Linked DNA regions of Homo sapiens: regions 1, 2, 3, 4, 6 and 7 are each linked to region 5. The links are contacts of gene promoters, found by promoter capture Hi-C in blood cells and fetal thymus (Javierre and others, 2016). All regions are on one chromosome and are shown on one strand. Each heading gives the region's core, a stretch centred on a gene start or on the middle of the fragment in contact. The rest is flanking DNA. Distances are from core to core; before and after follow the strand shown.

What was found. The method cuts DNA at HindIII sites, captures the fragments that hold promoters and counts their contacts. A CHiCAGO score of 5 or more calls a contact.
Region 1: a fragment that was not itself captured here is called in contact with the fragment with the promoter of MANBA in region 5 in 2 of 17 cell types (M2 macrophages and neutrophils); the score reaches 7.0 in M2 macrophages.
Region 2: a contact is called between a fragment that was not itself captured here and the fragment with the promoter of MANBA in region 5, in 1 of 17 cell types (monocytes). The highest score is 6.9, in monocytes.
Region 3: a contact is called between a fragment that was not itself captured here and the fragment with the promoter of MANBA in region 5, in 5 of 17 cell types (neutrophils, M0 macrophages, monocytes and 2 more). The highest score is 7.2, in neutrophils.
Region 4: a contact is called between a fragment that was not itself captured here and the fragment with the promoter of MANBA in region 5, in 1 of 17 cell types (total CD4 T cells). The highest score is 6.7, in total CD4 T cells.
Region 6: a contact is called between a fragment that was not itself captured here and the fragment with the promoter of MANBA in region 5, in 1 of 17 cell types (neutrophils). The highest score is 6.0, in neutrophils.
Region 7: a contact is called between a fragment that was not itself captured here and the fragment with the promoter of MANBA in region 5, in 1 of 17 cell types (total CD4 T cells). The highest score is 5.5, in total CD4 T cells.

What each region holds. Positions count from the first base shown.
Region 1 is chr4:103,060,906-103,065,108 of GRCh38, reverse strand. All of the region lies in intron 3 of SLC9B2 (solute carrier family 9 member B2), which reads left to right. Among named protein-coding and RNA genes, the nearest start is that of SLC9B2, 14 kb to the left of the region's middle. The HindIII fragment of the contact is 2,943 bases long and covers 1,393-4,203 here.
Region 2 is chr4:103,113,764-103,117,428 of GRCh38, reverse strand. It overlaps CENPE (centromere protein E), which reads left to right. Exons shown (of 49, transcript NM_001813.3): 45 at 740-852; 46 at 2,877-2,974. Among named protein-coding and RNA genes, the nearest start is that of BDH2, 16 kb to the right of the region's middle. The HindIII fragment of the contact is 1,824 bases long and covers 802-2,625 here.
Region 3 is chr4:103,093,366-103,097,177 of GRCh38, reverse strand. It overlaps BDH2 (3-hydroxybutyrate dehydrogenase 2), which reads left to right. Exons shown (of 10, transcript NM_020139.4): 2 at 904-995; 3 at 1,897-1,975. The coding sequence starts at 924. Among named protein-coding and RNA genes, the nearest start is that of BDH2, 4.6 kb to the left of the region's middle. The HindIII fragment of the contact is 6,924 bases long and covers 1-3,812 here.
Region 4 is chr4:102,427,245-102,430,874 of GRCh38, reverse strand. The region is part of intron 2 of NFKB1-AS1 (NFKB1 antisense RNA 1); the gene reads left to right. Among named protein-coding and RNA genes, the nearest start is that of NFKB1, 72 kb to the left of the region's middle. The HindIII fragment of the contact is 1,585 bases long and covers 640-2,224 here.
Region 5 is chr4:102,759,692-102,763,720 of GRCh38, reverse strand. It overlaps MANBA (mannosidase beta), which reads left to right and starts at 2,753. Exons shown (of 17, transcript NM_005908.4): 1 at 2,753-3,003. The coding sequence starts at 2,827. RefSeq lists a silencer at 2,589-2,718 and an enhancer at 2,809-3,158. The HindIII fragment of the contact is 23,862 bases long and covers 1-4,029 here.
Region 6 is chr4:103,173,240-103,177,448 of GRCh38, reverse strand. CENPE (centromere protein E) reads left to right here. Exons shown (of 49, transcript NM_001813.3): 14 at 403-550; 15 at 1,401-1,489; 16 at 2,546-2,713. Among named protein-coding and RNA genes, the nearest start is that of CENPE, 23 kb to the left of the region's middle. The HindIII fragment of the contact is 2,274 bases long and covers 519-2,792 here.
Region 7 is chr4:102,384,565-102,388,245 of GRCh38, reverse strand. No RefSeq gene overlaps it. Among named protein-coding and RNA genes, the nearest start is that of SLC39A8, 41 kb to the right of the region's middle. The HindIII fragment of the contact is 4,429 bases long and covers 1-3,681 here.

The DNA.
Region 1 (4,203 bases), core at 1,615-4,114, 300 kb before region 5:
GTCATGGTCTTCCTGCCACTTTCACCTCCCCCACCCAACCTTTTTTTTCCTGGAGACAGGATCTTGTTATGTTGCCCAGGTTTGTCTTGAACTCCTAAGCTCAAGGGATCCTCCCACCTCAGCTTCCCAAGTAGCTTGTTACAGATGTATACCACTGCATCTGGCAAAACTAGTTTTAACCGGCCAACTTTTAAATGCCTGGAATCTATCCACAATTTTTCACTTTTATAAATCATATTTTCAAAAGATAAAGATAATTTTAACATCAAAATATAAAAAGAATTGTTCAAAAACATAAACATCCATTCATCAGCATTATTTATTTATTTTTATTTTTGACACATATTTGTACATATTTGTGGGGTACAATATGATGTTTCAATACATGTATATATTATATAATGATCAAATCTAGCTAATTAGCATATCTAACACATGAAGCATTTATCGTTTCTTCATGGTGAGAACATAGAAAATCTTCTGTTTTGAGGTATACAATACCTTATTCCTGACTATAGTCACGTTGCTGTGGTACAGAACAAACTACTCTTCCTATCTAATTATCACTTTGTACCTGTTGACCACTCTCTCCCCATAACCCCAAGCTCCTCCCCTCCCCAGTCCCTGGTAATCACCATTCTATTTACTATTTCCATATGAACAACTGTTTTAGATTCTACATATGAGTGAGAACATGCAGTATTTGTCTCTCTGTGCCTGGCTTACTTCACTTAGCATAATGTCCTCCAGGTTCATCCATGTTGTTGCAAATGACAGGATTTCATTCTTTTTTATGGCTGAAAAGCATATCATTGTGTATATACACATATTTTCTTCATCCAGTCATTCATTGTTGGACACTTAGGGTTGATTCCATATCTTGGCTATTGTGAATAGTACTGCAATAAACATGGGAGTGCAGAAATCTCTTCAACATACCGATTTCATTTCCTTTGGATACATACCCAGTAATGGGATTGCAGGATCATATGGTAGTACCATTTTTACTTTTTTGAGGACTCTCCATACCATTTTCCATAATAGTGGTATTAATTTACATTCCCACCAATAGTGCACAGAGTTACCTTTTCTCTACATCCTTGCCAACCCCTTGTTATCTTTTGTCTTTTTGATAATAGCCATCCTGACAGGCATGAGGTGAAATGTTGAACATTTTTTCCTATACCTGTTTGGCCATTTGTATGTCTTCTTTTGAAAAATTCAGGTCTTTGCCCATTTTAAATTGGATTATTTGTTTTCCTGCTATTGAGTTTTTTGAGTTCCTTTTATATTCTGGACATTAACTCCTTGCCAGGTACATAGTTTGCAACTGCTCTCTCCCATTCTGTAGGTTGTCTCTTCACTCCGTGGATTGTTTACTGTGCAAAAGCTTTTTAGTTTGGTGTAATCTGGTTTGTCTGTTCTTGCTTTTGTTGCCTATATTTTTGGAGTCATATCCAAAAAGTTATTGCTCAGACCAGTGTCATGGAGCTTTTTATTTATGTTTTTTTTCTAATAGTTTCATAATTTTATGTCTTACTAAATTTGCCTTTTAAAGAAAATTTAAAGGCAATTTCAAAAATTGTGTTCAAGAATAATAGCATCATTGAAGTAAATATATGGATGCCCACATATGTTTACTGAAAAATGAGACTCAATTCCATAGTTATACTTTGTGGGCTCTGAAAGACATGTTTACCATTATCATCTGGGACAATGAAAGATAAGCATAATATACTATACTTTAGGCTCTAGATGTGTTTTTAATGAAACCAAGTCAGTTTACTTAACTAAGCATGGAAGAAAATCTCAAACTTAGAACATGTACAGAAAACCAGAATCCAAAAATATACACTAGCTGATAAGATCACAGATAATTGAATACCTTTTCTGTTCTTTTCATTATTTTTTTAAACTTTTATTATTCAAAATATGGCCTACTTATAGTTAAAACGTTTACAATGAAACAGATATGGACTGACATAAGGAAAGAGTAAAAATGAATAATGTAATTTTGGGACACATTTTTTAAAAATGTATAATCGTTCATAAAGCAGCCTGAAAAATGAGGTTCATGGTAGATAAACATCTCATCGCTTATTTTTCTGTTCTTCTGTTCCAGAGGTTTACAAGACGACTTTTGTCCTATATTTTTTCCTGTGCCTATGCAGTATATATCAGTATTCTTCTTAAAAAGTAGGCTGGGCACAGTGGCTCAAACCTGTAATCCCAGCACTTTAGGAGGCCAAGGCAGGTGGATGACGAGGTCAGGAGTTCAAGACCAGCCTGGCTAACATAGTGAAACCTCATCTCCACTAAAAATACAAAAAATTAGCCATGCATGGTGGTGGGTGCCTGTAATTGCAGCTACTTAGGAGGCTGAGACAGGAGAATCACTTGAACCTGGGAGGCGGAGGTTGAGATCGTGCCATTGCACTGCAGCCTGGGTGACAAGAGTGAAACTGTCTCAAAAAATAAAAATAAAAAAAGTAAATCTTACATGTGAAAATTTGTGGTTTTCCATAATCGTAAATGAGAAGTAAATTGTTAACTGATTTAAACATGATTTAGAGAAACCTTATAGACATACCATTTGCTATGTATTTACAACTGTGTTTCAAGTAAAGCACAGGGAAAGAGAGATTTTTTTAATAGTCTTGAAGTAGAAAAATCTCTCTTTTTTTTTTTTTGAGATGGAGTCTCACTCTGTTGCCCAGGCTGGAGTGCAATGGCTCGATCTCGGCTCACTGCAAGCTCCACCTCCTGGGTTCAAGCAATTCTCCTTCCTCAGCCTCCTGAATAGCTGGGATTACAGGCACGTGCCACCATGCCCGGCTAATTTTTGTATTTAGTAGAGACGGGGTTTCACCATGTTGGTCAGGCTGGTCTCGAACTTCTGACCTCATGATCCGCCTGCCTCGGCGTCTCCCAAAGCGCTGGGATTACAGGCGTGAGCCACTGCGCCCAGCCGAAAAGAGAAAACACTTAATTCTACCTTGCTGAATTTAATATTAGCTTGGGTTTATGCTATGATAAAGTATAATTTAGTATAATAGCTGGCAAATCCTGCTTTCCCATTCTACCTCTGATATCGCATAGAAATTTCAACCCTTGTAGCTAATTGGAAAATACTGGAAGTCCCTTAGGTATTCCACTGCAGTAGTATCATAAGCCTAGAAAATCTGGAACAATTCTGTGAGGGTTTAGAAAAAGGGACATTGAATTCAGTCTCTAGCAGTATGGTAGATGAGACTCAATGAACAATCTTGTCACAAACCAAGGACATCATCTGAAAAAATGTTTTAAGTCTTTTGAAATGATCTGTCAAGAAAACAGGGAATCATCAGACACCAAAACCAAAGTGTAAGTAGCAGAGGTCAGTAAGCACTCAAGGTGGCCCCACCCTGGAGGTTTCTACCAAACCTCAGGGAACTTTTTTTTTAATTATTATTATACTTTAAGTTTTAGGGTACATGTGCACGACGTCCAGGTTTGATACATATGTATACATGTGCCATGTTGGTGTGCAGCACCCATTAACTCGTCATTTAACATTAGGTATATCTCCTATTGCTATCCCTCCCTCCTACCCCCACCCCACAACAGGCCCCGGTGTGTGATATTCCCCTTCCTGTGTCCATGTGTTCTCATTGTTCAATTCCCACCTATGAGTGAGAATATGCGGTGTTTGGTTTTTTGTCCTTGCAATAGTTTGCTGAGAATGATGGTTTCCAGCTTCATCCACGTCCCTACAAAGGACATGAACTCATCATTTTTTATGACTGCATAGTATTCCATGGTGTGTATGTGCCACATTTTCTTAATCCAGTCTATCATTGTTGGACATTTGGCTTGGTTCCAAGTCTTTGCTATTGTGAATAGTGCCTCAATAAACGTACGTGTGCATGTGTCTTTATAGCAGCATGTTTTATAATCTTTTGGGTATATACCAGTAATGGGATGGCTGGGTCAAATGGTATTTCTAGTTCTAGATCCACCTCAGGGAATTTGAGATTGATTTTGAGAGCGCTGTGAGCACAGGAGGCTAAGCTAGAGCCTGCCCAGGTTGGGAGAAGTCTAACAGGAAAAAGCATTCTCCTTCACCCATATAAAGTTGAAACCCAGTGTGATGCCAAATTTGAGGTAAATCTGTTCTGCAGATGGGGCCTCTGACTAAACCTGTCTCAACTGTAGTTGCTGGCT
Region 2 (3,665 bases), core at 464-2,963, 350 kb before region 5:
ACAGTGAAACTATTCTGTATGATACTGTAATGATGGACATGTGCCATTTTACATTTGTCAAAACCCACAGAATGTACAATACAAATAAACTGTCATGGAAATTATAGATTTTAATAATAATGTATCAATATTCATCACTTATAACAAATGCAGCATACTAATGCATGATGTTAATATGGGGAAAAAGGAATAGGGGACACTGGGTATGTAGGAACTCCCAGTATTTTCCATTCCATTTTTCTGGAAACCTGCTGCTGTAAAATATAGTGTTTTGAATCACTGGATGGAACTGTTTCAGTACAAAATATACTTAGTAATGCTTTGTTTTGTGGCTTAAATTTAGTTCTAGTTTGATGTTTACATCACTGCTCCAACATCTTTTTGTTTCATTTTCTGATTTACCTTTTTCCACCCTTTTCATTATTTCCAACTTTTTTCATTTTGTAGGTATTTTCAATTAGAAAAAAAATATTTATTTTAAGAAATAAAAATCATGTTTCTAATTGCATATTATGATAGCTCCAAATAAAAAATCATGTTTCTAATTGCATATTAGCTTCAAATAGACTTCATATCAATATCTAGTTATTCAGTTAAAATTGATGCTTTTTCATATATTTGGAATTGTTTGCTATTTTAAAATGTCCTTATTAGAGCAAAGACAGCTAACCATTCTTTACAACTGGAGAAACTGAAGCGCCTCTAATAATTATTTTTATTTTCTCTAAAAAAAATTTAGGACAAAGTTGCTTTAGGAGCTAAGCCATATAAAGAAGAAATTGAAGATCTCAAAATGAAGCTTGTGAAAATAGACCTAGAGAAAATGAAAAATGCCAAAGAATTTGAAAAGGAGTACGTATTTGTCTTAATTTAATGTGATTTTAATAGCTTAAATTTTCTTCCTAAACTACATATACTTTTCATTAGTTAACTTTTTAAAATATAATTTATGAAAATATTGTTACAGCTCTTTTTTTAAAAATGTACACATCCATAGATTTTAAATATACTGGTCTCATTACATATGCAAAGTTTTTAAAACTAAACACAATTCTGATCAATTAACACGCTGTGTCTTTGAACACTTCTTAGTCATACAGAATATAAACAATTTTAAGTGGCTTTTGTATGCCTGAAAGTGAACATTAAGAGTGTGTGTGTGTGTGTGTGTGTGTGTATTTAGCAGTTTTACTAAGGCTTCTGTTGGTTCTCTTAATTTCATTTGTTGGCCTTACTGTGTTTCTGTGTGAAGATTATATTTCCTTTTAGTTTATAGTTCCCTAGGGCCCAAGAGCAAATCCTCTTTTTATTGATTTATTTATAGGTAGCATTATACATAACAGCATGCCTAAATTCTTTGTGGTATAGCATAATGAAAAGAACATTAAAGAGAGTCAAGGAAACTGAAGTAGAAATACGTTCTCAATCCCAGCACTTTGGGAGGGCTACACGGGCAAATCACGAGGTCAGGAGATAGAGACCATCCTGGCTAACACGGTGAAACCCCGCCTCTACTAAAAATACCAAAAAAATTAGCCGGCATGGTGGCAGGCGCCTGTAGTCCCAGCTACTTGGGAGGCTGAGGCAGGAGAATGGTGTGAACCCGGGAGGCGGAGCTTGCAGTGAGCCGAGATCGCACCACTGCACTCCAGCCTGGGCGACAGAGTGAGACTCCATCTCAAAAAAAAAAAAAAAAAGAAATATGTTCTCACTTACTAATGCATCACCTTACACTGTTTATTCTCTCTGGTCCTCGCATTCATAATCAATAAGGAAAGGTTTATTTAGAGGATTTGTTAGGATGCTTCCTGGCTTTTAACACTTTTCATTCTTCCTATATAAATCTTGAATAAATATTTAATGATCTCTTATTTTGCCCAGGAAGTAGCATTGGAATTTTCATGCTCTCTAAGCAGTCTATTGGTTTCAGTGAAACATAGATCTATTAGATTCTTAATTATAAAAACAATTTTACTTGTAGAATAGGGTCAGCAGGGCCGGGCACGGTGGCTCACGCCTGTGATCCCAGCACTTTGGGAGGCTGAGGCAGGCAGATCACCTGAGGTCAGGAATTTGAGACCAGTCTGGCCAACATGGTGAAACCCCGTCTCTACTAAAAGTACAAAAATTAGCCAGGCGTGGTGGCAGGTGCCTGTAATCCCAGCTACTCAGGAGGCTGAGGCAGGAGAATCGCTTGAGCTCAGGAGGCAGAGGTTGCAGTGAGCTGAGATAGCGCCATTGCACTCCAGCCTGGGGGACAAGACCAAGACTTCGTCTCAAAAAAAAAAAGAAAAGAAAAGTAAAGAATAGGGTCAGCAGATACAGATAATTCATAGTCATTAAGAAAGGCAGAAAGTCTTATAATTTATCGTTACTGATTAATGCGTAAACTAACAACTCATAAAATGTCTCTTTCTACTGGAGAACAGTGATCAGAATTTGACCTTTGTAGCACCTTAGACCAGAGCTGCAGTCAGGGTTTGCTTTCCTGACCATACAGAAATAAAGCTGCACTTTCTCTTTCATGCTCCTTATACCTTCAAATATTTCTAGGACCCCATGGTAAAAAATAATTAGGTAATTATAATTTTGTTCAATATACAATGAATTAGGCCTCCAGAAGCTTTAAAAGAACTGGGGTTTCTCAATATAAGAAAATCGGACTGTCCCTGCACCCAAGCAGAATGCTTCTAGTTTGATGGCATTAATGCCATAAGGCACATGGCACCAGAGAGGTATCACGAGGGCTTATCTACTGCCACTTACAGGCATTATGTCAATGTGATGTGTTAGAAAATCCTTCACAGCAGTTCTGTTTATTCTCCTGTAAAAAATCAGTTGCTGAGCTTTTTACATATTTTTATTGTTTTTGTTAGAATCAGTGCTACAAAAGCCACTGTAGAATATCAAAAGGAAGTTATAAGGCTATTGAGAGAAAATCTCAGAAGAAGTCAACAGGCCCAAGATACCTCAGGTAAGTAGAAAATGCAGATATTTTCAGATGAAATTTTACTTCTCAACACACAACAGACTTTGAAGACTAATATTATGTAGTATGTGACAGTCGAGAGTAAACAGAAGTTGGCCACTAATCTATTTTTAAATGAATTTATTGGAACCATATTTCCAGATATCTTGTGACATCGTTTGTTGTAATCTTAGATGCTTATCCATTATAGATTCTTGAAAAATACGAACTCTGCTTTTGTATTGTCAAATCTTTACCTATTAGTGAAGATACCTTCAGGCAATAAAGGAATGACTTATACTATATCAACATGGAATTATGCTTCCCAATAAAACGAAACACATGTCTTCGTAGATTTTAATTGTATGCATCTAATAAGTTATAATTGGTGTACAGTAAAAATAAATACTATTCTGTTTGTTCTTGAAACTAAAAATACCAAGTTAATATTTACTTGCAAAGGTCTTTGAAATTTATCTGAGATACTTTTTAGATCTGTTGGTCAAATTTCTCAATATACATGCATTCCTCAAACTACCTTTATTCATATTCTGTCTGTCATGTTCCATTTGAAAAGAAAGAATGCTTGAACAGTACTTGAGATAGCTTTACGCAGTAGAACAAGTACTGAACTAAGATGCAGATCTCAATGGCTATATGAAATCGTGGGGTTAGCACCTGACCTTCTAACTTATAA
Region 3 (3,812 bases), core at 440-2,939, 330 kb before region 5:
ATTGGGCATGTTTCAGCAGTTTCCTCATCTGTAAAATGGGAGTATTGGATGTGATTTGATTTTTCCATCCTTTTTTTTTTCGATGAATATCTGAGACCAACTATGAAATCTTTTCAAGAGAAAAAAAATCATAAGCAATTGATAGTGCAAACCTCAACAAAAGTTTATGGAAGAGAAATCAAGAAGCAGCCCTGAGTAGTAAGGACACAAATAATGTCATAGCAATGTGTGCAGGGGTCATGGAGAGAGTGATGGTGGTAGTGAGGAAACTCAGCACCAGAGGCTGTCCTCTCCAGGTACTGAAGGAAGGATAAGGTAGGTTAAAGTGCAATATCTGGGCTGGGCACAGTGGCTCAGGCCTGTAATCTCAGCACTTTGGAAGGCTGAGGCAGGTGGATTGCCTGAGGTCAGGAGTTTGAGACCAGTCTGGCCAACATGGTGAAAGCCCGTCTCTACAAAAAATACAGAAATTGGCTGGGCGTGGTGGCAGGCACCTGTAATCCCAGCTACTCAGGAGGCTGCGGCAGGAGAATTGCTTGAACCTAAAAGGCGGAGGTTGCAGTGAGCCGAGATCACTCCATTACACTCCAGCCTGGGTGACAAGAGTGAAACTCCATCTCATAAAAAAAAAAAAAAAAAAAAAAAATGGCCAATGTCTGTCACCAGTCATTACTTCAGTGGGTTATGGTAAATGTGTTTGATATACAAAGCTAGGTATGCAGAGTAAGCATTCTAGGAGAATTCAGATGATGGGACTACTTGCACAGAGGTGCTGTCTTCAAGTTCCTGAAGGAGCTCACTAAATTATTCTTAAAAGAGCACACTGAACTATTCATTCTAGATGTTACTGCCTGCTCAAGATCATGTTCTACAGTATAACCCATTAAACACACATGTCTTTAGATTAAACCACAGGTTCCATTATGGGTCGACTTGATGGGAAAGTCATCATCCTGACGGCCGCTGCTCAGGGGATTGGCCAAGCAGCTGCCTTAGTAAGTTATAAGTTACTATCTTTGTTGTTTGCCTACTAACTCTTGACATATTGAATTATGTGGACTGATGCCATGGTTGTTTACTTCTGCTCTGCTTTTTTATTTTTTTACTTTTGTGCTTCTGTTGTCTTAAGTTATAAAAATAAACAAATAAATAAATAGGTCCCTACTCCTGACCCCAGGCAGATGAAGGAATGAATACCTCATATTTAGTACATGACATCACTGATAACCATTGACTCTGAGAAACTTCTCTACTTCAGTTTCTCTGCATCATGATATATTCGCTACAGAGGGCAAACAGGGTTACACAGCTTTCTGAAATTGTGTCAGTTTAGATATATGACTCCAGAGTTATAAGACAGGTTACCTTGTTCTCCTGATTTATATCAATTTCTGTTACATTATGTACCCCACTTAAGCTAATATCGGCACCTTAAGTATAACAGTACCTTAAGTATAATGGCAGGGTATGGTTTGACATTTATGAAAGCACTAGCATACTCTTAGTAGGAAAAGTGTTGAAACAACCAATTTTTCTCTTATTATTTGGAGTTTAGTAACTCAAACTCAGAAATGATATATAGTCTCATTACAGAAGAGCAGTATTTTGAGAGTATTGAAAACAGCTGTCATTTTTTTAAGAACGTTATTTTGTTTGATATTACTTAAAGGGACTAAGTCAGATGACAAGCACAATGTATGTCACATTGTTCTAATTAATGATAAAAATAATAACAATGGAGAAGGGGTAAGACTAGATAGTTTAAAATTCTAGCTATCTTATAGGGAAAAGAACAATGAAAATAAGATAAAGGAGAAAAAGACCACATGATGTTCCATTCATGAGCACAGTTTATTCAAGTAAACAAAGGATTTATTTGTACTTTGTGTCTACTAGGCTTTTGCAAGAGAAGGTGCCAAAGTCATAGCCACAGACATTAATGAGTCCAAACTTCAGGAACTGGAAAAGTACCCGGGTAAGCAACTCAGCAGCTTGAATTTGGGATTCAGTGTCTGCAAGGTATTATAAAGCATGGCGCTCACATGTTGAAAGAAAATTCCCTAGCTACTGAGCTCCACTGCCGTGCTTTTTAGATTCTCTCTCTGATATGAAATCTATATTTTGTGAACCTATAGACAAAAATCTGTGACTTACATGCATAGAAAAATTTGAGGACGAATACTTAAAATCCTTTATTTAGCTAACACATTTGAGGGATTCAGTTCCTAATTACAAACTTACATGTGAAAATTTACTAGTTGTTAGGTTAACTTTTCATGACAGCTTTTCACTTCTGTGCCCTCCTCCTCTAGGATAGCCCTGTCCAATAGTAACATGTTGTGAGCTGCCTGTGTAATTTTAAATTTTCTAGTATCCACATTAAAAAAGTAAAAAGAATCAAGTGAAAATTAATTTAATAATATATTTTCTTTTATCCAATATATCTAAAATATAATCTCAACATGCACTCAAGTTAAAAAATTAATATTTTAATTTTTTCTTACTAAATTTTTTATTTAAATTATTAGAAGTTTCTTACAAACTTCAAACATTAATTTTCTCCTCTTTGCAGCTTTTCTCTTAATTTTCTCTTCTTTGAGGTATAATTGAGAAATAAAAATTGCATATATTCAAGATGTTCAACATGATGTTTTCATATATGTTGTAAAATACCTTGTGAAATGATTATCACAGTCAAGCTAATTAACATATCCATTACCTCATTTAGTTACCTCTGTGTGTATGTATGTGTGTGCTAAGAATACCTAGGATCTACCCTCTTAGCAAATTTCAAGTATACAATACATTATTAATAACTATAGTCACTGTACTGTATATTAAGTCTTATAACTGCAAGAGTGTACCCTTTGACCAACGTCTCAATATTTTCATACTAAATCTTTAAAATTCATGTGTATTTTACACTTGCAGCACATTTCATTTCAGACTAGCTGCATTTCAGGTGCTCAGTAGCCACATGTGGCTGGAGACAGCTTAGCTCTAAAATCACACATCATCATGAGAAACCCTAAGAGAGTACCCAGATTATTAGGTGTGTACCACCACTTCTTCACCCCACTGAACCAAACTCCAACACCAAAGGATTTTAATTGCAGTTTACCCAAAGAAATCAGAACAGAGAACCTATATGAAAGGTAACCCTTACAGCAAAATAGAACAGGTTACATAATCAAACAGCAATTAGTTCCTTGAATTAGTTAATTGAATTGGAATATGTTGAATTATAATTCAAACAAGTCAAAGTAAAGCTGCTGCACTGGGGAAGCACAAAGATAAGGAAATGTTTCTGAAACAAAATTTCAAGTCTTCCCTTTCTTTATGAATCTTTTATTTCTATATTCCCCCAAAATAAACCATATACATATTATTTATAATATATTATAAATTATAAAATATAATACACATTATAGATAATTATATATTATATGTATTATACATATATTATTATATATTATACATATACATATTAATACATTGTATATATTATAAATTATATTACTATATATTATATGTATTATTCATATATTATTATATATTATATGTATACATATTAATACATTGTATATATTATAAATTATATTACTATATGTTATAATATATATTATGCACATTATAAATAATATGTGTATATATTTATAATGATGACTGCTGCTTTTGTTAGACACTGTTTGGAGTTTCTCAGCAACTAGTGCAGTGTGTATCTCTCAGGTGCCCGCCATGCCAGATCTCTCATGTCTAGCCTTCAAGGGTGTCATCCCTTCTTCTGACCCTCTCATTTCTTCTCCTTGCAG
Region 4 (3,630 bases), core at 183-2,682, 330 kb after region 5:
CACAAATACTAAATGCAAATATGCAACACATTTCCCACATAATCTAAAAGAAAAAAGAAAAACAACTCAGATGAGACTATCTTATAACAGGGCTCTTTGTATTTAGAAAGTGTGGTGGTGGTGGGGACAACTTCTGTTTTAAGTGCTAAATCCAGTGGGAAAAATTTGCCTCCTCACAAGAACATTTGCCTGAGATGCTGATTCATTACAAAGGGACACAGAGCTTTGGGTTCAGAAAATAAAGAATGCTTCATATGGAAAATTTTGTAATTTATTATGTGAGCATGCTTCAGGTTTCACTTTGCTTTTGGTATCATCAAATGTTGTAGTAGTAACTGTACGAAATGAAATTCATTCTATTTACTCTAATAAGCAGATTCTTGAAGAAACTGCTCTCATAAGCTAAGGTTCCTTATGATTCTGCAAGGAAGAGAAGACTAAAGCAAATCACTGTCTGAAAACATAACAGCTGGCTAAAGTAAGCATTGAACAACACTAAGCACTTCAAAACATCAAGTAAAATTTTGGCATTTAGTATCACATAATGTATATGATCTATATAATATAATATAATATATACATACATAATATCTAGTATAGTGTTTGCAGTTTTGTAAGTCTAATGTATTACAAGAAGCTTAAGATGTAATTATAATGATTTTTATCTAAACACAATTGCTAGTGAAATAGGAAGACTAATTGCCAAAATACTTATTTGGTGTATTCTCTCATCAGTGGTTATCAAGATTTTAAAAACTTATGAGAAATGAGTTCCAAGAGCTTAATCCAGAGTAATACAAGTTTACTTGTTTTGCTTAGCTTTCTTTATCATCCTCTTTGGCTTCTATTCCAAATCTTCATCATTTCCTCAACATTTAACTGCCAATGTTCTCAGTAAACCACCTTGTTAATCTGCTTTTTTTTCTTTTTTTTTTTTTTTTTTGAGATGGAGTCTCGCTGTGTCGCCAGGCTGCAGTGCAGTGACGCGATCTTGGCTAACTGCAACCTCCGCCTTCCGGGTTCAAGCGATTCTCCTGCCTCAGGCTCCCAAAAACCACCTTGTTTCTTACTTGAGAAAGTTACAGTCATCCATCAATTGTCCACCCTGCCCAGCACTTACTAATATATAGACACTTTCTTAACTCCTTTCCACATATTTGGAGGATGATGTGTCCTTCTAGCACAAAGCCAAGCCCTCTCCTGGAGCCCTTGATTCCATTTCTTTCCTCCCCATCTCCATTCCTGGAATGTTGCTTCATCAGTCATTCCCACTCTGTTCTTATCTTCCACCTTAGCCCTTCTGTTGGCTCCAATCCTGAGTCCATACACCCCAAATCTTTCTCATCCTTAAAAAATGAACAAACGAAATACCCCAAAACAACAAAAAATAAATTCTCATGACCACAAAACAAAACAAACACAGCAAACAGAAAGTCAGCCCTTTCTTGACCACAAATTCTCTTTTGTCTTTCATTCCATCTTTTTTCTTCCTTTTTGTCCATGAGTTGCCACTGCTTTTCCACTCCCTTTTCACTCCTTAACTGACTGATCTCTAATTTTCTCTCCCATCACTAGACTAATACAATTCGTGAATGTTGCCAATGATCATTTTAACTCATCTTATTGGCCCTACTTGCCAAATTTGGGAAAATTGGTCACAGCCTCTTCTTGAAACTGTTTGATGTTTGCCGCTTTCTGATAATCTCTTCTTGGTCTTCTCCTAATCTGCTCATTTCATAATTTTTTTTTTCCTGTTTGATTCTCAGATTTTCCCTCTTCCCCTTGTACATCAAAAAATTTTAAACCCAGGTTCTTTAGTGATCCACAGGCCTCCTGAAATTCTGTGCAAAAATTTGGGTCTTTGATTATGTGTAATTTTCTAATAAGAAAGTCCATAGTTTACAGCTATTCTCAAAAGCATTAATTTCTCTCCAAAAGTGTAATAACCATTGTTCTATGTGGTCTTGCAAGGCAATCTTGGCAATTAATTTAGTTTTTTAAACAACTGACATATATCAAGAGCATACTAAGCAAAAGTATAGTAATTTTCTTAAGTAACCCTCAATTAGGTATGATAATCTTCACTTTACAAATCAGAAAATGGAGGCATAGAGAGGTGACTTGGCCTAGGAGACATAGCAGGTAGGTAGCTGTTATAGTTTTAATTGTCTTTTATTTGCTGATGATTCTCAAACCTGTATCACCAGCCCATATCCTCCAAGCTTCAGATTCATGAATAACTCAGTAAGTCATTTCTGGGGATACTCTATGGGGTATCAAACTCAGCATTTTTAACACTGAGCTTATTAACTTCTTGCCCCAACCTGTTTCTTCTGTATTCTCCATTCAGGGCCCATGCTACGGGAGTCATCTTGACTGTTTTCCTTTGTCTCCTACATTCAACCAATTTTCAGTCCTATTGAATTTAAATTCAAATTATAACTGTTTCTGCTAAGATACTAATCACCTTTTACCTGGTCTTATGTAACAGCGTCCTACCTATCTGAAATCCTTTGATGACACAGCATTTCATGGTGACTGAATAAATGGGCTATAAGGCCTTTGAAATATAATCCCAAGCCTGGCTGTCTCTTTACAACCTTCTCCAGCCTCTCCCTTCCCGTAACTTATACTTCAGCCACATCGCATGCCTGGATTGATCCAGGGATAAAAATCTAAACTATTTGTTGGGCTGGGTAGACTTTATCTCCTTGAATTATGAATTAATTATGGATTCTCTATGAATATTATTTCTTACGTCTTTTGATAAAAGCTGGGTAGTGACTGTCAGGTATTTTATTATCTGAAAAATGCCTTAGAGCAATTATTTGGTGTTATGATTGAAGCACATGTATTATAAAGCTAATATACTTCAAAAAGTATGTATTTTAGAGATCAATTGAGCAAAGAGAAAAAGGTTAATGTCCCCTTATGAAAATTAAGGTGCCTAAGCTAGACTTTGTCTTGAATAGACATTGGCCTACCTCTGCATGGAGAAGGCCTAGGAGCACTATAGACAGTTAATAGATTTTTCTCAGAATACAATTCTGGGTCTGCTCCAGGATAGGGGCAGATCAATCAACAAAGTTCCAAAGGTCTACACTGTAGACCGTGGCTTTGGCAATTTTAGCCTGGAAGATTTTCAAAGCAGAATTACCCCGAGAAAAATCTCAGAAATCCATCTGAGAAATGTCTGAGTTTGAAAGCTTCTCAGTGAACCCTCTAGAGAAAATTACTTGTGAAATGTGCCCCTTACTAATAAAAATGACTGACATGCTGTTTGGAGTTGTTTGATATAAACCAATTAAACCTTGGAGAATATTTGCCAAAACTGTGAATTTGTGTTTAGAGATAGTTGACCTTATGCAAACTGTTTTTTTTGTTGTTGGTTACCTGGTAGCAAAATTGTGTATTGAGTCCAGTACTACCATGGATTTTTTTTTTTTTTCGCAAGGGGAATTCTACTTGAGTTATGAAGTTGAGTGTGGTTTCTTTCAGCTTCTGATAGTCTCAATGAGATTGCTGCTAATTGGGTATTTGTTTACAGGTTTTAACAAACTGTAACTGTTAGAATTTTTCCATGCATTTATCCAAAAGAGGCAGATAATTTAAATAAGTACTCAGGGGCTA
Region 5 (4,029 bases), core at 1,504-4,003:
TTATAGGAAACTCATGCATATGCATCCTTGACACACCAAATTCTAGTGGTGTACATAGTTTCCACTACCTTCTCTCTTTGTTCTAACATTTGGGGCTTCAAACTCTGGGGAAGTATGTCAAACCTTTGGGCAGGATACTTATGGGCTATTATCCCCAGTCCTGGGGTTTAATCAGACACTATGAGTCTAAAGGCAAATGTCCACTCCACATCTGATTACTCTTTCATTTTCTTTCCCTTATTATAACTTCTGTAATATATCATGGGATTGGAATATCATTGGCCTTGGTATATACCATGGTGTTCTAATGAGTTTACCAATTTTATATATTTAGATATGAAGGAAATGTTGTCATATAGCAAAGGGCCTAACTACTTCCATTGGTCTGTTGTGACAGGATACTGACCCTACACATCATTTAATCACCGTGGGCATTATTTATCTTTTTAAACCAGGGAACGATCACTTGTTCTAAATAATTCAAGTTTTGGGAAGCATCAAATGAAATGATCAAAATGAAATCTGTTTATACAGTGTAAGTTAAAGATACCCATAACTATTTTAAACATTGCATTTGGTATCATGACTTTAAATTACATAAGTTGAGAAGTTTTATGTTATCTCTAAATAAGGTTTATTTACCAGAAAATCATGGACAAAAATTATCCTATAACAAAATGAAAACATCATGTCATCTGTGCCAATTGCAATTTTAGGAAGAGTACTTATTAGGGCTTTGATTATTCTTTGATGTTCTCTGTTGTCAAAGTGAAGTAACCTAAATGATGTTATGCTTGCATCCTGGAATGAAAGGAGGAATGAGAATCTTCTATTATTGTTTTTCTAAAAATTATATTTCTTAATAAACAGAATATATCCATATGTATCATCAAGGATGAATTTTCCTCTGATTTGGCTTAATGAAATCTCTGGGAATTATGAAAAAATTCCTTTGCCGCTCTTGTTGCCATAAACCTTGTGTTATCAGTGTTGCACAGACCATGGCTAGCCATTTAATGCCGTGAATTATGGCATATAATTTGAATTGAGAGCTTTGTTTCTATCAAAGGTAAAAATGCTTCTGGAGTGAGTGAGGAAGGCTTTGAAGCAGTGAGAGCGTTTCCCCTATAGCATCATTGGGCTCTGACAGTAGGACCTTGAAGAGGAGGGTTCTAATCCTGTCTGCCACTATGTGACAGGCAAGTCACCTGATCTTTTTTTTTTTTTTTTTTTTAGAGTCTTTCTCTATAGCCCAGGCTGGAGTGCAGTAGTGCCATCTCGGCTTACTGCAACCTCTGCTTCCTGGGTTCAAGCGGTTCTCCTGCCTCAGTTTCCCGAGCACCTGCGACTACAGGCACGTGCCACCACGCGCCCAGCTAATTTTTGTATTTTTAATAGAGACAGGGTTTCACCATGTTGGCCAGGCTGGCCTCGAACTCCTGACCTCAAGTGATCCACCCGCCTCGGCCTCCCAGAAGTGCTGGGATTACAGACGTGAGCCACCGCGCCTGGCCCCGATCTCTTTGAACTCAGTTCCCTCATCTGTAAAGCCAGCGGCTTGGGTTGGATAATCCATACTGTCCTTTAAGCCAAGATATTCAGGGCTTGTAAATAATGCTGACTTTGCAAAGTAAGATATTGCCCGGTGTCTGCAGAATCAGGCAATTCCAAGGCCATTGTAAGGCGAAACAAAGCTCAGATTTGATGAGAGAAAATTTCTTTTCAAGGACTTCTTCCGAAGCATAAATATACGGCAGATAGCGTCAACACAGGAGAAAGGCAGTCTATTTTATGCAATGTAAAATTCCGTCTTAACTTCTAGGATTACTGTTACATCCTATTGCAAAAATGGGACTCAGGTAGACCATTTGACTACAAGACCCGAAATAAGTCAGTGGTATTTCTTGGGTACTCTGGCATTGTTAGGGACGATCACATATGTTTACTCATTTTATACTTATAACACCTTGAAAACTTCAAGAAACGGAGATGGAGATTTTGCGGCTTGCCCAGGTCCCACAGCTAGTGAGTGCAGAGGATTTTAAACTCAGCTGCGCGCCTAGTGCAGGTTCCAGAACCTCAGAAACCTCCGTGGGGCTTTATGAAACATAAGGACGCAGGCCGCTAGTAACAATAGCTAACGTGAATGCCTTCTCTGGGCCAGGCTCCATGCTGCATGCTATAGTCGCATTTTCTTGGTTAGCCCTCAGAACAACCTTCTGATGGAGATACTGCTAGTACTTGTTTACTCTTTGAAGGGCGGGGTAGGCTCTGAGACCCGCGAGTTGAGCTGCAGCGGGGTGAGTGTTACGCTACCAGGTAGACGAGGGTCTGTGTAAATTTGGCGGAAGGGAAGTGGTGGGTTGTCTCCCAGTTTGGGTTCTCTGAAGGAGTGAGGGGACTCTCCAGCTATGGTCTCCACGTACAGTCGGTCTCTGATCTCCCGAGGCTTTGTGCCACTGCGCGCCCAGGGATCTTTCTGTCCCAATTACCGTGCAAGATTCTTGCCTCCAGTTGTATGTACTGAGGCGGCGGGAAGAAGCGCCGAGGGAAGGCTCAGACCGCAATGCCCCCCAGCCTGTAGCTATTCTCGGGGGCTGCAGCTCCCGCACCCGCGACGCCCGGCTTTCAGCGGGTGCAGGCGCAGCCTCCTCGTTCCCCTCCCGCCCGCGGCTGCGCCCGGAGAGCGCTCAGCTGACCTAGGGGCGGGGCCGGGGCGGGGACCTAAAGCCTCGGCTACTTCCGAGGGGGTGAGTGGCTTCACCGCCGGTCCCTTGCAGCGCTGCCTTTCGATCTCTCCACATCTCGGTGGCGCGGGATCTCAAGATGCGCCTCCACCTGCTCCTGCTGCTCGCGCTGTGCGGTGCAGGCACCACCGCCGCGGAGCTCAGTTACAGCTTGCGTGGCAACTGGAGCATCTGCAATGGGAACGGCTCGCTGGAGCTGCCCGGGGCGGTCCCTGGCTGCGTGCACAGCGCCTTGTTCCAGCAGGGCCTGATCCAGGTATGGCGTGCGGCCGACCCGCGGCGAGCCTGCGCCCGCCTTCTTCTGGTGCTGAGAGGGGCCCAGGAACCGCCTGGCAGCCCCCAGCTCTGGGCCATTCTCGTCGGTTTGGTAGTAACTTCCCCTTTGCATCTTGTGATCTGCGGGGGGAAATGCCCAAGCTATGGGGTACGGGCTTGACGGAGACTGAGCGACCGACCCATGTTGGGACATCAGTAACTCTGGAAAGGGGAAGTTTAGATAGGGGAACAGTGTTGCTACTAGCAGTTTACTTACTGCAGTCGTTCTCTACTGAAGCGTGTATACAAAGGGCATGCCGTCACTGACAAGCATAAGGTCGGGAATTACTGTCTCTACTGTCTGCACGCCACAGGGGACAACAGCGTTTTGTTAAGTAAGGGTTAACTCTATTGAGTAATGTCTCGGTTTTTTATTTTCGCTGTTAAGCGTCAGGGAGTCAGATTTGGGATTGACGCAGCACAGACGTTGTGGAGAATGACCTACAAGAGTAAAGTTGGGTTTGTCAGTGCTAGTGTGGCTAACAACGGGTAAATAATTTTTAAGGCTAACTTGGTGATGAAGAAAGGTGCTATTTCCTCTCAGGGCGTGTGTGTGTGTGTGTGTGTGTATCCCAATGGAGTCTCCAATTTACAGACTACTTGTGGGGAACGTTTTCGTGTTTGGCTGCCTGTGCGCATAGGTTTGCAAACTGACTTCCATCCTCCAACTGCTTTTGCTGTTCCCTCTTGCACAGCGTTCCCACGTGTTGTCTTTACTTGGGGCAAAATGTACTTGTAATTGATCTACTTGTGGGATGCATACATTGTCCAATCCTCATAACAACTCTGTATAGTAAGTGTTCATATCTGAATTTTATGGATAATATGGAATTATGGAACACAGAGAAATTAGGAAGGTGACAGCAACTAAATGGAAAGAAATGGAATTCTAACCCAGGTGGTCTCAACTCCATAGCCTGGTCTCTATACTATGTGGTATGCTTAGTTTGGTGTTTTAAAAAATCAT
Region 6 (4,209 bases), core at 406-2,905, 410 kb before region 5:
CACCCAGTAAAGAGTCAAGAGAAGAATGGTGGCTATGAAACCTGGAGAAACACACTTAAGAGGCAGGCACAGGAAGAGAAACTAGCAAAGCAGAGTGAGTGGTAAGGACAGCAGCTGGGTAAGGTAAGAACCAGGAGATGGGTCCCTGAAGTGTTGAGGAAGGAGTGGATAAATGATGAGGAGGACAAAGTAGGAAAAAAAGAAAATGGTAGTTAGAGTGAAGTAAAGAGTCAAGAGTTTGATTTTTTTTTTAAGCAATATCCTTAGACTAATAAAATTTTAAACTAGGCTTAATAAGAATTCTACCAAGTCAATGGTTTTCAAAAATAGAAACTAGTTCCCTTGTTTTATTATGTTTGAATACAGATCTATATGACATAATTTTGATTTCTTCTTCTTTAGGCTAAAAGAAAACGAAGAGTTACTTGGTGCCTTGGCAAAATTAACAAAATGAAGAACTCAAACTATGCAGATCAATTTAATATACCAACAAATATAACAACAAAAACACATAAGCTTTCTATAAATTTATTACGAGAAATTGATGAATGTGAGTGCTTTTTTCAAGTGGAACTATGTTTAATTATAAAAGCATCCTTATAAAGAGAAACTATGTTTATAGCTCAGTTAATGTGATAAACATGTTTAAATACTGTGTATTTCATATGTGATTACAATGGAGACTATGATTTAAAATAAGTAATTCTAAAAATACAAAAAAACTAGCTGTGCGTGGTTGCAGGCGCCTGTAATCCCGGCTACTTGGGAGGCTGAGGCAGGAGAATCGCTTGAACCTGGGAGGCGGAGCTTGCAGTGAGCCAAGACCCGTTGCACTCCAGCCTGGGTGACAAGAGTGAAACTCTGTCTCAAACAAATATAAATAAATAAATAAATAGAAAGTAATCATAAGTTCTTTATTCTGAATCTCCTAAGAATGATGCACTAGTTGAAACACACATGAGACAGGTGTTTTTATTTTCTAATTATTATTCAATTAAATTGTTAGTTATATGGCATCTGCCTTTGCTAATCTTAAAAGAGTGGCATTGACATAGGAATCTGTTTCAAAATTATTTCTTCAATAGTACAGTCTGTTGGGGGGGAATTTTAAATCTACTTATAATGATCAAATCTCAAATTCAGAATTTGTCCTTTTAACCTATATTTCATTAAGGATCCTGTATTGTGTCACTAATTCCAACCAGTGATCATCTTAATTCATACAATAACATAAATGACCATATCTATTAATGTACTTTTGGTATTCATACTCTGAGCACATAGTAGTTAATTTGAAGTTCTTAGTATCTCTGATAAGAATTTTTTTAGTAATCTTTAATTTGACTTAGGAAATTTGGTAAACATGTTCATGGACAAATTTTTTTTTTCTCTAATTATAGCTGTCTGTTCAGAGTCTGATGTTTTCAGTAACACTCTTGATACATTAAGTGAGATAGAATGGAATCCAGCAACAAAGCTACTAAATCAGGTAACTTAATGTATTTTACAGCATATAATGCTTTTACTCTTTTTAAAATTCTTTTGTTATTAGGTTTTGTTACTTGTTCTCATTTAATTTCAGTAATGATTTTGGCTCTAATGAAGGCTTTTCTCTTTACATTTCTACTCTATAACCATCAGGCACCTAGAGGAAGGCTAAAAATTTCATAAGGCAGACATGTGCTAGTAGGTAAACCTTTGCCTCTAGCTCTTTACTAGCAGATCTTAGTATTCACAATGTTTGTAAAGTTTCTGTTTTGCCTTGGTAAACTTCATTAGGGTAACAAGACTGATTTTAAAAGTGTCAATTCTCAGGCATTTATAATGTATAGAATAATATATCAGGGAGAGGTAATTTTGGTGAATACATCAGTAAGTTTAGATTCCGTGTTTACTTTGTAGATTGCTCGTGTTTAAAGATGTATAGTTGTATAAAGTAATAGACATTTTCATTTGAATTTTAGAATATAATTGCATTACTACTTATTATTGTTAGTTAATTCCTATAAAGTATTATTGATAAAGTGTTTTTTTGTTCCTAATACATACATTAGAAGTTTCTTGGGTTTTTTTTACAATCTCTGGTGTAAAAAAGTATTTTTTTAACTCATGGTTTATCTCTTCTCTTATAATAATATAGAAAATAGAAATAGGCCTCTTTATAGTAAAACACAGTTGTCATTAGCTTTAGAAGTCAATAAATAATATCTCTGTTTCCATTCTTGAATTCAGAACCATCTGAGACATAAAATAAGAGTTAGTTAGATTGGGGAATTCAATTATCAGTTTTATTACTGAGGAGCTTGAGGACTTATGGTCAAAATTCCCTGTCAGGCACAGGCAAACATACACTTTATTGATATATTTTTAAAATTCTCCTTCTTTCAAAATAATCTATTCTAAGTTAGCTAGTTTGCCAAAATGTAGAACTTTAGAAAGATATCAAATCAAAGTTAAAGTAGTTATTTAAATAATTCAAATTTTATTAAGGAAACAAAAAATATTTGAATTTTCTGATTGGAAAATCTGTTCTTGTTTATAATAGGAGAATATAGAAAGTGAGTTGAACTCACTTCGTGCTGACTATGATAATCTGGTATTAGACTATGAACAACTACGAACAGAAAAAGAAGAAATGGAATTGAAATTAAAAGAAAAGAATGATTTGGATGAATTTGAGGCTCTAGAAAGAAAAACTAAAAAAGATCAAGAGGTAAGAGAGACAGAAATGTAAAACTAAACTAAAAGCATACTTTTAAAAGAAGTATTCTCTTTTTTCTATAATGTAAGCTTTTTTAATTTTTTTTAAATGTACAGATAACATTTTATGTGTTTATTGTATACAACATGATGTATGATGTTTTGAAGTATATATACATTGTGGAATGGTTAAATCTAGCTAACAAATGTACTACCTCACATAGTTATTGTTTTTGTGGTGATAGCACATAGTATCCACAAATTTTATGTTTTTTAAGAATACAATAAATTGTCATTAACTATAGTCACCTTGCTGTACAATAGAGCTGTTGAAATTTATTCCTGCTATCTAACTGTCATTATGTCATCTGACCAAGATTTCCCCATTTTCTTCTCCCTGAAAAACACCCCAGCCTCCAATAACCACCATTATACTTTGTACTTCTAAGAGATCAGCTTTTTAAGATTCTGCATGTGAGTGAGATCATGCAGTATTTGTCTTTCTGTTCCTGGTTTATAATGTCCTTTGGGTTCATCCATATTGTTGCAAATGGTAGGATTTCTTTTTTTTTTTTTAAATAGCTGAAGAATATTCCATTGTGACTTTATACCAAATTTTCTTTATCCATTCTTCTGTTGGTAGACTCTTAGGTTGGTTCCATATCTTGGCTGTTGTGGAAAGTGCTGCAGTAAATATGGGAATGCAGATATTTCTTGAACATACTCATTTAAGTTCCTTTGGGTACATGCCCAGTAGTAGGACTGCTGGATCTTATGGTAGTTCTATTTTTGCTTTGTTGAGGAACCGTCATACTGTTTTCTATATATTCCTACCAACAGTATAAAAGGATTCTCTTTTGTCCACATCCTTGCCAACAAGTTCTCTTCTGCCTTCTTGATAAGCCATTCTAATTGGGATGAGGCAATACCTCACTGTGGTTTTGATTTGCATTTCCTTGATTATTAGTAATATTGAACATATTATGTGTATGTCTTCTTTTGAGAAACGTCTGTTCAGGTCTTCTGCCTATATTTTAATTGGGTTGTTTGGGGGTTTTTTTGCTATTGAGTTGTTTTAGTTTCTTATATATTTTGGATATTAACCATGTGTCAGATGTATATTTTGCAAATATTTCTGCAAATATTGCAAATATTTTGCAAATATTTCTGCAAATATTGCAAATATTTTGCAAATATTGTCTCTTTATTGATGATTTCCTTTGCCTTTAGTTGTAATTCCGTTTATTTGTTTTTGGTCTTTTTGGTTGTGCTTTTAAGGTCTTATTCAAAAATTCCTTGTCCTGACCAATGTTATGAAGCATTTCCACTATCTTGTTTTCTAGTAGTTTCATAGTTTCAAGTCTTAGAATTTAAGTCCTTAACTCATTCTGAATTGATTCTTGTATATGATGAGAGACAGGAGATCTAGTTTTTCTTCAACATATAGATATTCATTCAGTTTTCCCAGCACCACTATTGAAGAAAGACTATCCTTTCCCCAACATATGT
Region 7 (3,681 bases), core at 278-2,777, 370 kb after region 5:
AAGGTAAGATAAGAATGTAGAAAGTAACAGAAAATATGAGTACACCAATAATGTGCACCAGTGAAAAGGTTAAAAATAATAAGATTTAAGGCTTTCTCAGAAGTATGGGGTGGTCAGTGAATGCATTCACTGGGGGATGAAGGACATGGGAAGGGGGCTGAGACTTGAAGGATTCAGGGACTGATAAGATGCCGTGAAGATGAGGCAAGGGAGCCATTTCAAGCTAAAGAGTGGGAGGAGGATGGTTTGAGCAGAGATCTGGTGCAGAAAAGAGAAGAATGCCTGGAGGCAAGTTGGGTAACTGCAGGAGATAAGGTTTGGCAAGGTAAAAATGGGCCAGATGGTTGAGGGCTAGGCACAGGAATTCAGATTTTTGTCTTGCACAGATTTCAGAGTTTGAATTAGGAAATAATTTGACTTAGAGACTGTAAACACCCAGAAAAATGTAAGAGACAGCAGTTATGTAGGCTTTGTGATTATTGTAGAACTTCAGAACGGAAATGAATAATCTGACCTATGTGGACAGTGATGGGGATGGAAAAGCAGGGATGCATGTTAGTGAAGTTGCACAAGAGGAATCAAAAGCATTTGGTAACATGATCTAGGGGTGAGGGGCAGGTAACTTTCAAACTTTTTGATGATGATCATAACAAGAAATGCATTTATATATTTTGCTTATAATTACATATACATATATATGTTGTACATTTATAAAAAACGGAAATGAAAATTCTAAAAAAAAGTTTACGCTTACTCTAATTGATGTACATTGATATTTGTTTCCTTCCATTCTATTAAAAAATAAACTGATATTAATCCATGAAAATGATTTTATGAACCATGAGTGAGTTGTTATTTGAACACAATGTTTGTAGGGGTATAATTTAAAGGATACCAGAAAATTGTCCTTCTCCAAGATTTCTTACTGATTTTGCATTTCCAGAATTGGAAATTGAAATTTTGGTCCTGTGTTAAAGCAAATCTCTTTGGAAAGGCATAAACTTTGCAACCTTTTACCTTACAGTGAGCAATTTATTATCTTTCCTGGAAATCATGTTACGTTAGAGCAGACAATAGGGAAAATATGGAAGCCTGAGATGTTTGTCTGAAAGGTTGCGAAAGGCAAGACGGTGTTGAGACAGAAATGTTGTCCTCTTTAAAATTTTATATAGAAGTTACTACAATAAGTACAAGACAAAATTAATATTCACTCATTCATTCTCACTTAATCACAAGATAAAATTAATATTCACTCATTCATTCTCACTTAATCTTAGCCAAAAAACTGAGAAGCAATAATATTCATTCTCTGAATGAGGAAGAAAGACTTGAAGGAAGGTGGAACAAGGATTGGCAAACAGGATAGTAAGCCATTGTTTCTCAGCCATGAGGAGAAGATGCTAACCAGTACATCTGGAAGGTGAAGAACAGGAGAAGGAGAGGTTTGGAATAACCAGGAATAGGAATAGAGGGAGAAGGTGGGAGTGTAACTGTCTCAGGAGAGCGTTATATGTCAATGTATCATGTCAATGAGCCATGATAAAAGTGACTCTAGTCCTCAGGTTTAGGCAAGTTGCTTAGTCTGGGTCCTCTATCTTTTGTTGTGAAGACTCGATTTCACTAGAGTAACTGTCCAAACAAACCAACACACAGAGAATTAGGAAAATGGGTTCCTAATTCATCTGTGGTATTGTCAGGAGAATAGGAGAGTCAGGCAGTTAGTGTTCTTCTAGTGGTTCCAAGGATTAGAGGAAAATCATATTGGAGAAAGGGCATAGGGCACATGCCTTAATTTATGTGTATGGAGAAGGATGCTCTCTGGATGGCTGTGATAATCCCAGGTATCTCACGTTTTCAGCTTCAATTTGGTGTGTGGTCTGCATCTCCATGATTTTGTCTGGGCTGAGGGGTCAGTCGTGAACACTTCAGGGTTATTTTGCACCAGGCCGCTTAGTCCTATCTAGAATATGGCAAATCACTCTTAGATCTAAGATATCAATTTAGCAGAAACAGCAGTCAGTGAGTGAAGTCAAATAATTTCAATGGTGCACAATGGATGTATTAAATTTTATCATAGCACTAACCTCTTCTATCAATTGTGTAAGATTACTTTTCTCTTGAAAGACCAGTACCCTTAGAAGAAAGATCAATCTTCTCTTATTAATGCCTCTCTTAAACAGAGGCATTAAACTTACATATTTGCAACTTCTGCTTAACATTTATAATTAAGAATTCCTCCTTAATTTGGAGTAAATTATATAGAACTAGAATAAAAGATGAGTTCCCTTTGCCAATTTATAGAGCAGGAGCTGGATAAAAGGATGCGGCCATGCTGTTTTCTTCTCAGAGCTACATCTGCTCCAGTGCCTGAGGAGATGCCCAAGGCACAGTTCAAAGTCTCTATTTCTAATCTCTAGTGAGAGTTTGATAGGAAGAATGTGGACTTATCCTTCCTTGTCCTGAAATTGAGAGGAAGAGAGGGATGTGTGTGACTCCCCTCCCCGTGTTCAGGGACTTTGCCATCAAAGCCTTGCATTATTCCAGGAGTCCCCACTTGCTTTAGTTCGATGGAAAGAGAATTTAGCTGGATGGAGGAATCAGGAATTCCCCCTGAATATTGTGTGCCAAGGAAATCTTTTTTGTTTCCAGTAATCATAAAATAACCCATAACACCCAGATGGGTCTGATTCCTGGACCTCAACACAAATGTCCCCTCATTCTCTACTCTCTTTCAGATATAAAGGTAAATGCTATCTAAGCCACAGTAACCTTGAGATACTGTGGGCCTGGGGCAGAGAAGAGCATCTGTAGAAGAGGCAGTGGACCACAGTACTGGATCTGGAAGTTCTGAGCCTTTACTTGTTGAGGAGCAGTGAGTACCTATTTGGGATTTCTGGTGAGTAACATCACCTGCCTCCTCTGACAGAACTCCATTATCATGTCATTGATTTCTCAGTGAACCATACTCTAAAGGTATTACTAGGAGAATCTGGTCTGTGAACATATGCTCATAGTTCTGTGTCATAGGAACAGGTATAAGAATTTCAAGGAAATAAGCATATCAAATGGTCACTGTGGAAGACTAATTCGCTGTCTACATTGAGTTAGCATTTGCACATTTCACATGACTCCACACCCATGATAAATGATGAAGAACAACAATAGGAAGCATGCAACCAGCCAACTGCTCTGAGGGCCCAGAAGGGCTGACTTTGGGAAACTGACTCTCCATCCTTTGGAAAACAAGGCTGAAGGGTCCTGACTTTTTCAGCACAGCCCTCTCCATGCAAACTGTCATGAGGCAAAACACTGGGTCATAGACCTGTGATTCCCAGCCAGTGTGATATAGGTGTCAGATGATATGTTCATAAGAACATGGTAAAATGAGAAAAATCACAAAATGGAGTAAGTTTGTAAATAGGTCCAAGATTATTACAGTTAAAGGAATTTTCCTTATTTTAAGATTATACTCGGGGATGTGGCAAGATGACCAAATAGGAACAGCTGTAGTCTGCAGCTCCTAGTGAGACCAACACAGAAGGGGGGTGATTTCTGCATTTCCAACTGAAGTACCCAGTTCATCTCACTGGGACTGGTTAGGCAGTGGGTACAGCCCAAGGAGGGTGAGCAGAAGCAGGGTGTGGCATCACCTCACCCAGGAAGTGCAAAGTGCTGGGGACC